Regions from separate parts of the Homo sapiens genome. Here regions 2 and 3 are each linked to region 1. The links are contacts of gene promoters, found by promoter capture Hi-C in blood cells and fetal thymus (Javierre and others, 2016). All regions are on one chromosome and are shown on one strand. Each heading gives the region's core, a stretch centred on a gene start or on the middle of the fragment in contact. The rest is flanking DNA. Distances are from core to core; before and after follow the strand shown. Region 1 holds the start of IGFLR1 (IGF like family receptor 1). Region 2 holds the start of NPHS1 (NPHS1 adhesion molecule, nephrin). Region 3 holds the start of APLP1 (amyloid beta precursor like protein 1).

The links. Contacts are between HindIII fragments. The CHiCAGO score rates a contact against its expected background, and 5 or more counts as called.
Region 2: the fragment with the promoter of NPHS1 here is called in contact with the fragment with the promoter of IGFLR1 in region 1 in 9 of 17 cell types (M1 macrophages, total B cells, naive CD8 T cells and 6 more); the score reaches 8.7 in M1 macrophages.
Region 3: a contact is called between the fragment with the promoter of APLP1 here and the fragment with the promoter of IGFLR1 in region 1, in 4 of 17 cell types (M1 macrophages, M0 macrophages, M2 macrophages and 1 more). The highest score is 6.6, in M1 macrophages.

Annotation. Positions count from the first base shown.
Region 1 is chr19:35,740,684-35,743,916 of GRCh38, reverse strand. It overlaps IGFLR1 (IGF like family receptor 1), which reads left to right and starts at 1,465. Exons shown (of 5, transcript NM_024660.4): 1 at 1,465-1,521; 2 at 2,694-2,893. The coding sequence starts at 2,737. It overlaps U2AF1L4 (U2 small nuclear RNA auxiliary factor 1 like 4), which reads left to right. Exons shown (of 6, transcript NM_001040425.3): 5 at 13-108; 6 at 1,114-1,390. The coding sequence ends at 1,198. RefSeq lists enhancers at 1,283-1,712, 3,060-3,169. The HindIII fragment of the contact is 10,043 bases long and covers 1-3,233 here.
Region 2 is chr19:35,851,254-35,854,572 of GRCh38, reverse strand. NPHS1 (NPHS1 adhesion molecule, nephrin) reads left to right here and starts at 2,069. Exons shown (of 29, transcript NM_004646.4): 1 at 2,069-2,793; 2 at 2,901-3,116; 3 at 3,189-3,311. The coding sequence starts at 2,736. It also overlaps a transcript of KIRREL2 not described here. RefSeq lists enhancers at 2,141-2,782, 2,783-3,319. The HindIII fragment of the contact is 3,857 bases long and covers 1-3,319 here.
Region 3 is chr19:35,866,362-35,869,935 of GRCh38, reverse strand. It overlaps APLP1 (amyloid beta precursor like protein 1), which reads right to left and starts at 1,362. Exons shown (of 17, transcript NM_001024807.3): 1 at 1,153-1,362; 2 at 126-269. The coding sequence starts at 1,299. It overlaps LOC107985317 (a long non-coding RNA gene), which reads left to right and starts at 579. Exons shown (of 4, transcript XR_001753932.2): 1 at 579-844; 2 at 1,806-2,061; 3 at 3,343-3,449. KIRREL2 (kirre like nephrin family adhesion molecule 2) reads right to left here. Exons shown (of 15, transcript NM_199180.4): 15 at 2,800-3,574. The coding sequence ends at 3,444. RefSeq lists silencers at 1,122-1,191, 1,282-1,541. The HindIII fragment of the contact is 13,044 bases long and covers 1-3,574 here.

The DNA of each region.
Region 1 (3,233 bases), core at 216-2,715:
CCCTCTATGCAGGGAATGTACCCGAGGTGGCTTCTGCAACTTCATGCATCTGCGGCCCATTTCCCAGAACCTCCAGAGGCAGCTCTATGGGCGGGGACCCAGGCGCAGGTACCTCAGGACCAGCCTGCTATGTCTCCTCATGTCCTAAGGCCCCTATATCCTCAGATGAGCCTAACCCTAAGCCCCAGTAACCACGTTCCCAAGAATCTTTTTTTTTTTTTTTTTTTTTTGAGATGGAGCCTCACTCTGTTGCCCAGGCTGGAGTGCATTGGCACCATCTTGGTTCATGGCAACTTCCGCCTCCCGGGTTCAAGCAATTCTCTGCCTCAGCCTCCCAAATAGCTGGGATTACAGGCACCTGCCACCATGCCCGGCTAATTTTTGTGTTTTTAGTAGAGATGGGGTTTCACCATCTTGGCCAGGCTGGTCTGAACTCCTAACCTCGTGATCCACCTGCCTCACCCTCCCAAAGTGCTGGGATTACAGGCGTGAGCCACCACTCCCGGCTGACTGTTTTTTTTTTTTTTTTTTTTTTTTTTTTTTGAGACGGAGTTTTGCTCTTCTTCCGCAGGCTGGAGTGCAAAGGCGCAGTCTTGGCTCAGTGCAACCTCTGCCTCCCAGGTTCAAGCAATTCTCCTTTCTCAGCCTCCCAAGTAGCTGGGATTATAGGCACCTGCCACCATGCCTGGCTAATTTTTGTATTTTTAGTAGAGATGGGGTTTCACCACGTTGGCCAGCCTGGTCTCGAACTCCGGACCTCAGGTAATCCACCCATCTCGGCCTCCCAAAGTGTGGGGATTACAGGCGTGAACCACTGCGCCCGGTCATTCCCAAGACTCTTATACCCTAAGAGTAGTTCTGAGCTCCATCTGGAGACCAGTACCTAAGTCCCAATCCCCAAACCAGCCTGAACCCCTAATCCACGACCAGCCTGGATTGCCACCCCTGATACTGGCCACTGAGTTCCCCTGATACTGGCCACTGAGGTCGTGTCTTAGAACTCTAGTTATTTCAGCACCCTCCTGCCTCATCCCAGAGCAGAGAGGCAGGCCTGCAGGATCTCTGCACCACTCCTCAGGGTTCTAACAGAACTCTCAACGCTCCTATTCCCAGGTCACCCCCGAGGTTCCATACTGGCCACCATCCCCGAGAGAGGAACCATCGGTGTTCCCCTGATCACTGGCATGGCCGCTTCTGAGGCCCTGGCCCCCTTACCCTTCACCCCCAACAGGGACAGATGTTCCTGGCAGGACCTCTCCTCAAAGCCCCCTTCACTCTCCTGCCCCATCCTTCCCAGGCTCCCGGGCTCCATAATGTAATCTGTTCAGCATGGAGACCTTCTTCTACCGCCCCTGTCTTAATAAAGCTGCGTGTTTCACTTCGGCATCAACTTGCTTTTGCTGTGGTTTGGCATTTCCCTCCACCCACACATGTGACGAAAAGGGGAAACAAGACTGGGTCCTGGCCACAACTTCAGCTGAGGAACTTGGCACGGCCAGCTTGGGACCCAGGACCCTAACGGTACTGGTAGGGTGGGGACACCTTTGTGCTGAAAACCTTAGCACCTCCATCTGAGGCTTATTCAAGGGGGAGAGACCTGGTTGTGGCAGGTGGGAGGAGCCCTAGCCCCAAGGAGATTAGGATTCAAAGGTGAGGTGAGGTGCTGGGAGGTGGTCTCCAGCCAGTATGGGGCTGACTCCTCCGTGCCTGCCGAATTGTGATGGGAGTTAGTAATGCCTTACACTTAAACACTGAGTTTACTGTATGTGAGGTGCTGTTTTCAGCACTTTAGTTTGTTTTTGTTTTTTTTAAGGAGTTTCATTCCTGTTGCCCAGGCTGGAGTGCAATGGCACGATCTCAGCTCACTGCAGCCTCCACTTCCCAGGTTCAAGCAATTCTGCCTCAGCCTCCCAAGTAGCTGGGATTTACAGGCATGCGCTACCACGCCCGGCTAATTTTGTATTTTTAATAGAGACAGGGTTTCACCATGTAGGCCAGGCTGGTTTTGAACTACTGACCTCAGGTGATCCACCCACCTGGGCCTCCCAAAGTGTTGGGATTACAGGCATGAGCCACTGCGCCCGGCGGCCAGTTTTTTTTGTTTTTAGAGATGAGGTCTTGCTGTGTTGCCCAGGCTGGTCTGTAATTCATGGCTCAAGCAATCCTCCTACCTTGGCCTCCCTAGTAGCAGGGACTACAGACGTGAGCCACTGCACTTGGCAAAGTGCTTTGCTGTTTTTTTTTTTTTTTTTTTTTTTTGTAAAGATGGGGTTTCATTTTGTTGTCCAGGCTGATCTCTCGAACTCCTGGGCTCAAGTGATCCTCCTGTCTTGGCCTCCCAAAGTGTTGGGATTACAGGCATGAGCCACCACACCCAGCCCCTGCTTTACTTCTAATGACGGTTCTAATTCTCCACAATAACCCTATGAGACAGGTGCTATCATTGTCTTATTTTAGGGATGGAAAAGGGAGGGTGGGTGGGTGAGGACACGGCAGAGGTGGGATATGCATTCTTGCAATCTAGATCCGCAGCCCTGTTAGTCCCCTAGTGGCCTTGTGGGCTTCTCTGATAACCGGCTCAGTTGGGGGATGAGGGCTCGGGGGTAGATTCCCGGCTTCCGAAGAGGCGTGAGAATTCTGTTCCCCCACATCACCGCGTCCTTTCTTCTGCCCGATTTCCCCGGAAAGTGTAGCAGAGGCGCTGTGTTTGGAAGTCCCGCTATCACGGCCCCCCAGATGGGGCCTGGACGATGCCTCCTGACGGCCTTGTTGCTTCTGGCCCTGGCGCCACCGCCGGAAGCCTCCCAGTACTGCGGCCGCCTTGAATACTGGAACCCAGACAACAAGTGCTGCAGCAGCTGCCTGCAACGCTTCGGGCCGCCCCCCTGCCCGGGTGAGAATCCGAGACCGAGCCTTGCTTGGGCGGAGCTTGCAGGTGATAGGGAGCGGGGAAGGGGCGAGGTCTGTGGGCTACGGGCCAGAGAGGCTTGCTTAGGGGTCTAAGCGGTGGGCCTTATGCAGATCAGACAGGGATGGCAGGCAGAGCCTGTGCAGATAGTGCGGGCTACCGTAGGGCAACAGCGAATGGATATGGCTGGAGAGGCGGGATAGGGGCCGCGTGGAAAGGGTGGGCTTTATGTAGAGAAGCCGGGAGTGGGCGGAGCTTCGTGCGGAGCAGGCTGGAGGGGGGTGAAAAGGCGAGCCCGGAGAAAAGTGACAAGACCGGGGCGCAC
Region 2 (3,319 bases), core at 820-3,319, 110 kb before region 1:
GTCAGGCTGATCACCTGAGGTCAGGAGTTCGAGACCAGCCTGATCAACATGGAGAAACCCCGTCTTTACTAAAAATACAAAAAATTAGCCAGGCGTGGTGGCGCATGCCTGTAATCCCAGCTACTAGGGAGGCTGAGGCAGGAGAATCGCCTGAACCCGGGAGGCAGAGGTTGCAGTGAGCCGAGATCACACTATTACACTCCAGTCTGGGCAACAAGAGTGAAACTCCATCTCAAAAAAAGAAAAAAGAGAAAAAAGAAAAAAAAGAAAGATAAATCAAGGGCCAGGTGCGGTGGCTCATGCCTGTAATCCTAGTACTTTGGGAGGCCGAGATGGGAGGATTGCTTGAGCCCAGGAGTTCCAGACAAGCCTGGGCAATATAGCAAGACTCTGTCTCTGCAAAAACATTTAAAAAAAATTAGCCAAGTGGCGGGGTGCAGCGGCTCCCACCTGTAATCCCAGCACTTTGGGGGGCCAAGGCAGGTGGGTTACCTGAGGTCAGGAGTTCGAGACCTGCCTGGCCAACATGGCGAAACCCCGTCTCTACTAAAAATACAAAAATTAGCTGGGTGTGGTGGTCAATGCCTGTATTCCCAGCTACTCAGGAGGCTGAGGCAGGAGAATCGCTTGGACCTGGGAGGCGGAGGTTACAGTGAGCCAACATCGCACCATTGCACTCCAGCCTGGGTGACAGAGCAAGACTCCCTCTCAAAAAAAAAAAAAAAAAAAAAAAAATAGCCAGAGTGGTGATGCGGGCCTGTAGTCCCAGCTACTCAGGAGGCTGAGGCAGAAAGAACACTTGAGCCTAGGAGGTTTGAGGCTTCAATGAGCCATGATCACACCACTGCACTCCAGCCTGGGCAATAGAGAAAGACCCTGTCTCTACAAACAAATTTTAAAAAATTAGCTGGAGTGGTGGTGTGCACCTGTAGTCCCAGCTATTCAGGAGGCTGAGGCAGGAGGATCACCTGAGCCCAGGAAGTTGAGGCTGCAATGAACCAAGATCATGCCACTGCCCTCCAGCCTGGGCAACAGAGCAAGATTCCATCTCAAAAGAAAGAAAGATAAATCAAGATAGATAGAGGGAGGGAGAGAGAGAGACATGGAGAAGGAAAGAAGAGATGGGAGAGAGGGCAAGAAAAAGAGGGAGAAGAAAGCTCATGCAGTCCTTGCCAAAGGGCGCCCACTTTGGGCTCACACTGCACCCACACTGGGGGCCGGTGGAATTGGACTCTGCCTTTTACTCCCGCCCACACCCTGTGCACTCCCACGTAAGACACTGTCACACACACGCTCTCCACATGCTTATTACAGATCGCAGTTCACTCTAACCTTCCCCACTCTCACACCCACGTACACACATGCATATCTTCCCTCTCTCCCACACTCTCCCAGCCTGTCACACTCACTCTTGCATCCTCCCCAGCAGAGATCCCTGACATCATTTAGGCACTGATGTCTACTAAAAAAGGAAGGGAGGCCAGGTGCGGTGGCTCATGTCTGTAATCCCAGCATTTTGGGAGGCTGAGGCAGATGGATCACCTGAGGTCAGGAGTTCGAGACCAGCGTGGCCAACATGATGAAACCCCGTCTCTAGTAAAAATACAAAAATTAGCCAGGCATGGTGCTATATACCTGTAGCACCAGCTACTTGGGAGACAGAGGTGGGAGAATTACTTGAACCTGGGAGGTTCAAGCCATGGGAGGTGGAAGTTGCAGTGAGCCGAGATGCCACTGCACTCCAGCCTGAGCAACAGAGCAAGACTATCTCAAGAAAAGAAAGAAAGAAAGAAAGAGACTTGCCAAGGTCATGTATCAGGGCAAGGAAGAGCTGGGGGCCCAGCTGGCTGCTCCCCTGCTGAGCTGGGAGACCACCTTGATCTGACTTCTCCCATCTTCCCAGCCTAAGCCAGGCCCTGGGGTCACGGAGGCTGGGGAGGCACCGAGGAACGCGCCTGGCATGTGCTGACAGGGGATTTTATGCTCCAGCTGGGCCAGCTGGGAGGAGCCTGCTGGGCAGAGGCCAGAGCTGGGGGCTCTGGAAGGTACCTGGGGGAGGTTGCACTGTGAGAATGAGCTCAAGCTGGGTCAGAGAGCAGGGCTGACTCTGCCAGTGCCTGCATCAGCCTCATCGCTCTCCTAGGCTCCTGGCCTGCTGGACTCTGGGCTGCAGGTCCTTCTTGAAAGGCTGTGAGTAGTGAGACAAGGAGCAGGAGTGAGGGGTGGCAGGAGAGAAGATAGAGATTGAGAGAGAGAGAGAGAGAGAGACAGAGAGAGAGGAAGAGACAGAGACAAAAGGAGAGAGAACGGCTTAGACAAGGAGAGAAAGATGGAAAGATAAAGAGACTGGGCGCAGTGGCTCACGCCTGTAATCCCAACACTTGGGGAGGCCAAGGTGGGAGGATGGCTTGAAGGAAAGAGTCTGAGATCAACCTGGCCAACATAGTGAGACCCCGTCTCTAAAAAAAAAAAAAAGAAAAAAAAAAGAAAAAAGAAAAAAAAGTTTTTTTAAAGAGACAGAGAAAGAGACTCAGAGATTGAGACTGAGAGCAAGACAGAGAGAGATACTCACAGGGAAGAGGGGAAGAGGAAAACGAGAAAGGGAGGAGAGTAACGGAAAGAGATAAAAAAGAAAAGCAGGTGGCAGAGACACACAGAGAGGGACCCAGAGAAAGCCAGACAGACGCAGGTGGCTGGCAGCGGGCGCTGTGGGGGTCACAGTAGGGGGACCTGTGATGGCCCTGGGGACGACGCTCAGGGCTTCTCTCCTGCTCCTGGGGCTGCTGACTGAAGGTGAGTGGGATCCCAGCCTTGTACCCAGCGCCAAGTGGCCCCCATTTCCCACTTACCTTCCCTAGACAAACCCTCTGCCCTTTCCTTGCACCGCGCTGTGTCCTCAGGCCTGGCGCAGTTGGCGATTCCTGCCTCCGTTCCCCGGGGCTTCTGGGCCCTGCCTGAAAACCTGACGGTGGTGGAGGGGGCCTCAGTGGAGCTGCGTTGTGGGGTCAGCACCCCTGGCAGTGCGGTGCAATGGGCCAAAGATGGGCTGCTCCTGGGCCCCGACCCCAGGATCCCAGGCTTCCCGAGGTACCGCCTGGAAGGGGACCCTGCTAGAGGTAAGGGATCAGAGCCTGAGACCCTCAGCCACCAGCGGAAGCTGCGGCCCTGACTTCCGGCTCCCCCTGCAGGTGAATTCCACCTGCACATCGAGGCCTGTGACCTCAGCGATGACGCGGAGTATGAGTGCCAGGTCGGCCGCTCTGAGATGGGGCCCGAGCTCGTGTCTCCCAGAGTGATCCTCTCCATCCTGGGTATGGGT
Region 3 (3,574 bases), core at 113-2,612, 130 kb before region 1:
TGCGCCTCTTTATTGGCCACGCCCCCCAGCCTCCACGCCTTAGATCGCGCAGCACCCTGGACCACGCCTTTTTCAAGTCTAGCTTTCTATGGGCGGCCCCGCCTCTCCCGTTCGGCCCCGCCCACCTGTCTGCAGTACTCCAGCACGCGCTGCGGGTCCCGGAGACAGCGTCGAGAGCGCTGTGGGTCTGGTTCCCAGCGGCCGGTGCGCAGGTCCCGGTGAAGGGTTAGGCGCCCGCATAGTCCAGCCACCTGGGCCGACCCCGGGGCCTGGATGGAAGTGGAAAGGACAGTGAGGGCTCGGGGGGCGTTGGCATGAGGGTCCCCTGGTTCTTTGCTCCCTAGGACCGAGACCCCCAGCACCAGCCCCCTCCCCCAAGCACCGCACACCGCCTCCATGGAGGCACCGTTCCCTGGGAAACAGCTCCCGTAGGGCGGGGGCGCCCCAGCGCTCCCGTTGCTATGGCGACCTGGGTCCCCCGGGATTCTTTCTGCCTTGTTGCCGCGGAGACAGACTCCGCCCCCACCCCAGCGCAGCCGCTCTGGAGCCCGAAGGGGTTAAACCTGAATCGCGGAGGAGGAGGCCAGAACCCAGGAGTTCTGGCCCCTCCTCCCTCCATCCCTTGCTCAGGCTCCCGTTGCAGGATGCAAAGCTGACAAGGCCTGGCTTCAGGGGCCTACAGTCCTGGACACCAGGTCCTTGAGGACTGGAGAGCTACATCTGGTTGGGGTGGGTGGTGACTGAAGGACTGGACTCCTGGGTCCTGGGAGGCTGCAAGGGCCTCCATATGGGTCCAGAGAATACAAGGGGTCTGGATTATTGGATCTAAATGCCTCGCTGCTTGGTGGGTCCTATGTCCAGGCGGGAGGGGGTTGGGGCCGAGTCACCTGGGTCTGGAGAGGGGGCTGGACTTCTGGGACCAGGGGCTCTGAATAGACCAGTTCCTATGCTCGAGATGGGAGGGGGCTGGGACGTCGCATGATGGGGGAGCTGGGGCCTGGAACCCTGGGTTCATAAATGTGATTGGGGGCGCCTGGGGGCTGACCACCTGGCTGGAAAGACCGCGCTTTCTGCCCTGGACATGTCCGCGCCGGCGTCCAGAGACCCGGTCCCGCCCCTTCCCCCATCCCCCAGGACCCGGCCCGGCCTCACCTCGGCCGCGCCGGGGCTCCCACCGGCCAGGCTCCCGATGGCGGGCTGCGCGCGCAGAAGCAGCAGCAATAGTGGCAGCAGCAGCGGCAGCGGCGGCTGGCCCGGGCGGCGACTTAGACCGCGAGCAGCGGGGCTGGCGGGCCCCATGTCCCGGCCCTTGCGCCCTCACGTCCCCTGCACTCCCGCCCGGCCCGGCCCCAGCGGTGACAGGAGCTCCCAGCGCCACCGCCGCCACCTCCTCCTCCCGCCGCCCCCGGGCTGCGCCGGCGCCGCCAGCCCCGCCCCGCGCCGGCCCCGCCTTCCTGGTCAGGACAATAGCGTGGCGGCTTCGCGCAGAGTGGAGCAGCTCGGGAACCCCGGGCGGGAGCCTGCGCCAGGCCCCCGCCCCTCGAGATTCCAGGCGTCCCGCCCCATGAAGGGCCCAGCCAGGAGTCCGGCTATGGGCTCCGCCCGTTGTGGATTTTGAGTCCTCCCGCAGGACTCTCACCCTCTTTAGACCCAGACACTCACAGTTTTGTCCTTTTCCAAGGATGCAAGCATCAGAGACCCCCATCCCCTAGTACATTCCTCTGTTGAGGGCTCAGGAATACAGGCCTCCAAAATGTCCCCAGTCAAGAAGGCAGCAGTTGAGACCTAGTCCCTTCCTCTTTCAGATCCAGAAGTCTGGGCACCTTCTCTCTCAGGACCAGAGACCAAGCCCCCAGCCCATTCTCCTTCAGACCCAGGAGTTCACTCTTCTTGCTCTGCTTCCCAAGGGTCCCAGGGGCCTGGACCTTTAACTCCTAGCTCAAGGATCCATGAACCAAAGCCCCCAGGACCTTTCTTTAAGGATCATCCAAGCAGGCACCAGCACCATGCCCACTGTGGATGCAGCACCTCAGGATTAGGGTCTGGATCTCCACGCTTGCTGTAAGGACCAGGGGATTGCCATTTTCCTACCCATAGTCTCCCCTTCCCTGCTCCACTTCAGGGCTCACTTGTTTGTCTCCTCTAATGAGAGTTAGAATTCAGTCTTCCCCAGGACCCCTGGGGCAGCCCTGTCACTTGTGTGCAACTGTGTGGACATCTATGCGTGTGTCTGTGCATACATGCCTATGTGTGTGTCTTTTCTGTTTGCAACTCATGTGTGTGTGTGCGTGTGTGTGTGTGTGTGTGTGTGTGTGAAGATGTATATTAAAAGAGCCCATGGCTGGGCACAGTGGCTCATGCCTGTAATCCCAGCACATTGGGAGGCCTAGGTGGGCGGATCACTTGAGGTCAGGAGTTTGAGACCAGCCTGGCCAACATGGTGAAACCCTGTCTACAAACAAATACAAAAATTAGCTGGGTGTGGTGGCATGCACCTGTAGTCCCAGCTACTTGGGAGGCTGAGGTGGAAGGATGGCTTGAGCCCAGGATGCAGAGGTAGCAGTGGGCTGAGATCATGCCACTGCACTCCAATGTGGGCCATAGAGCCAGATCTTGTCTCAAGAAAAAAAAAAAAAGAGCCTAGAGTGCTTTGCAGGTAGCAAGAGGCTGAGAGGTGGCTCACAGTTTTACTCCTACAGCCACCTCATAGGCTAGGGTAGAGGAGGGACCTTGGGACAGGTCTAAGGGACCCCTTCCTTGGTGGAGAGTGATAATGCCAGTAGACTCCCTAAGACACACTTGCCTCTTTGACTTTTTTTTATTATTAAACATAAATATTTTTATCCCAATATTTTGCCCCAACAGTGGTAATTCTCACTGTATCCCCACTCCTTGGGTCCAAGTCTTTCTGAGTCTTTAAGGAAAGTAAAATCAAGATGGTGGCCATCTTGGGTTCCTAGGGAGTATATGGCCATCTTGGCTGCATTTCCATTGGCCGAGCAAAGTTCCCCTCAGGGAGAGCCAGGGTGGGGCCTGGTATGCTCTTCATCTTCATCTATCCTATGCTACCTTTCCTCTCAATGCAGATGGTCATCTTGAAATATCTTCTTTCAGTGGCTAGAAACAACTTCCATCCCGGCCCCAAACTCCCAACACCCACTGCCCTGTCCCCATCTCTCCTCAAAGGGCCTACCTGCCATCTTGAATCTCTTTTACACCGGGGAATAGGTGGGCATATTGGGTGGCCATGTTGCTCCCACTTGGGGCATCTCCTTTGGCTGAGCTGACTGTATACAAATGCTCCTGACAAATGTAATGATCTTTCCCTCCCCTTGTGTTCAGTTTTGGAGGAGTAAGGTCGCCAACTTGTCCTGGCTCCTCAGAAATCAGAACAATCCATTATGGCAAGTTGGAGATCCCAGGACTCTTCCATTGGAAAGATGTCACACGTGAGTCTGGAGACGCGGGTGGCTAGGTGTGGGGAAGGCAGCATATGGGAAGGGGGGAGTCCCGGGGGCCAGATCTGGGGGCCCAAAGGATGTGGGTTTGATGTAGCTGGTGAAAGCTCGAGGGT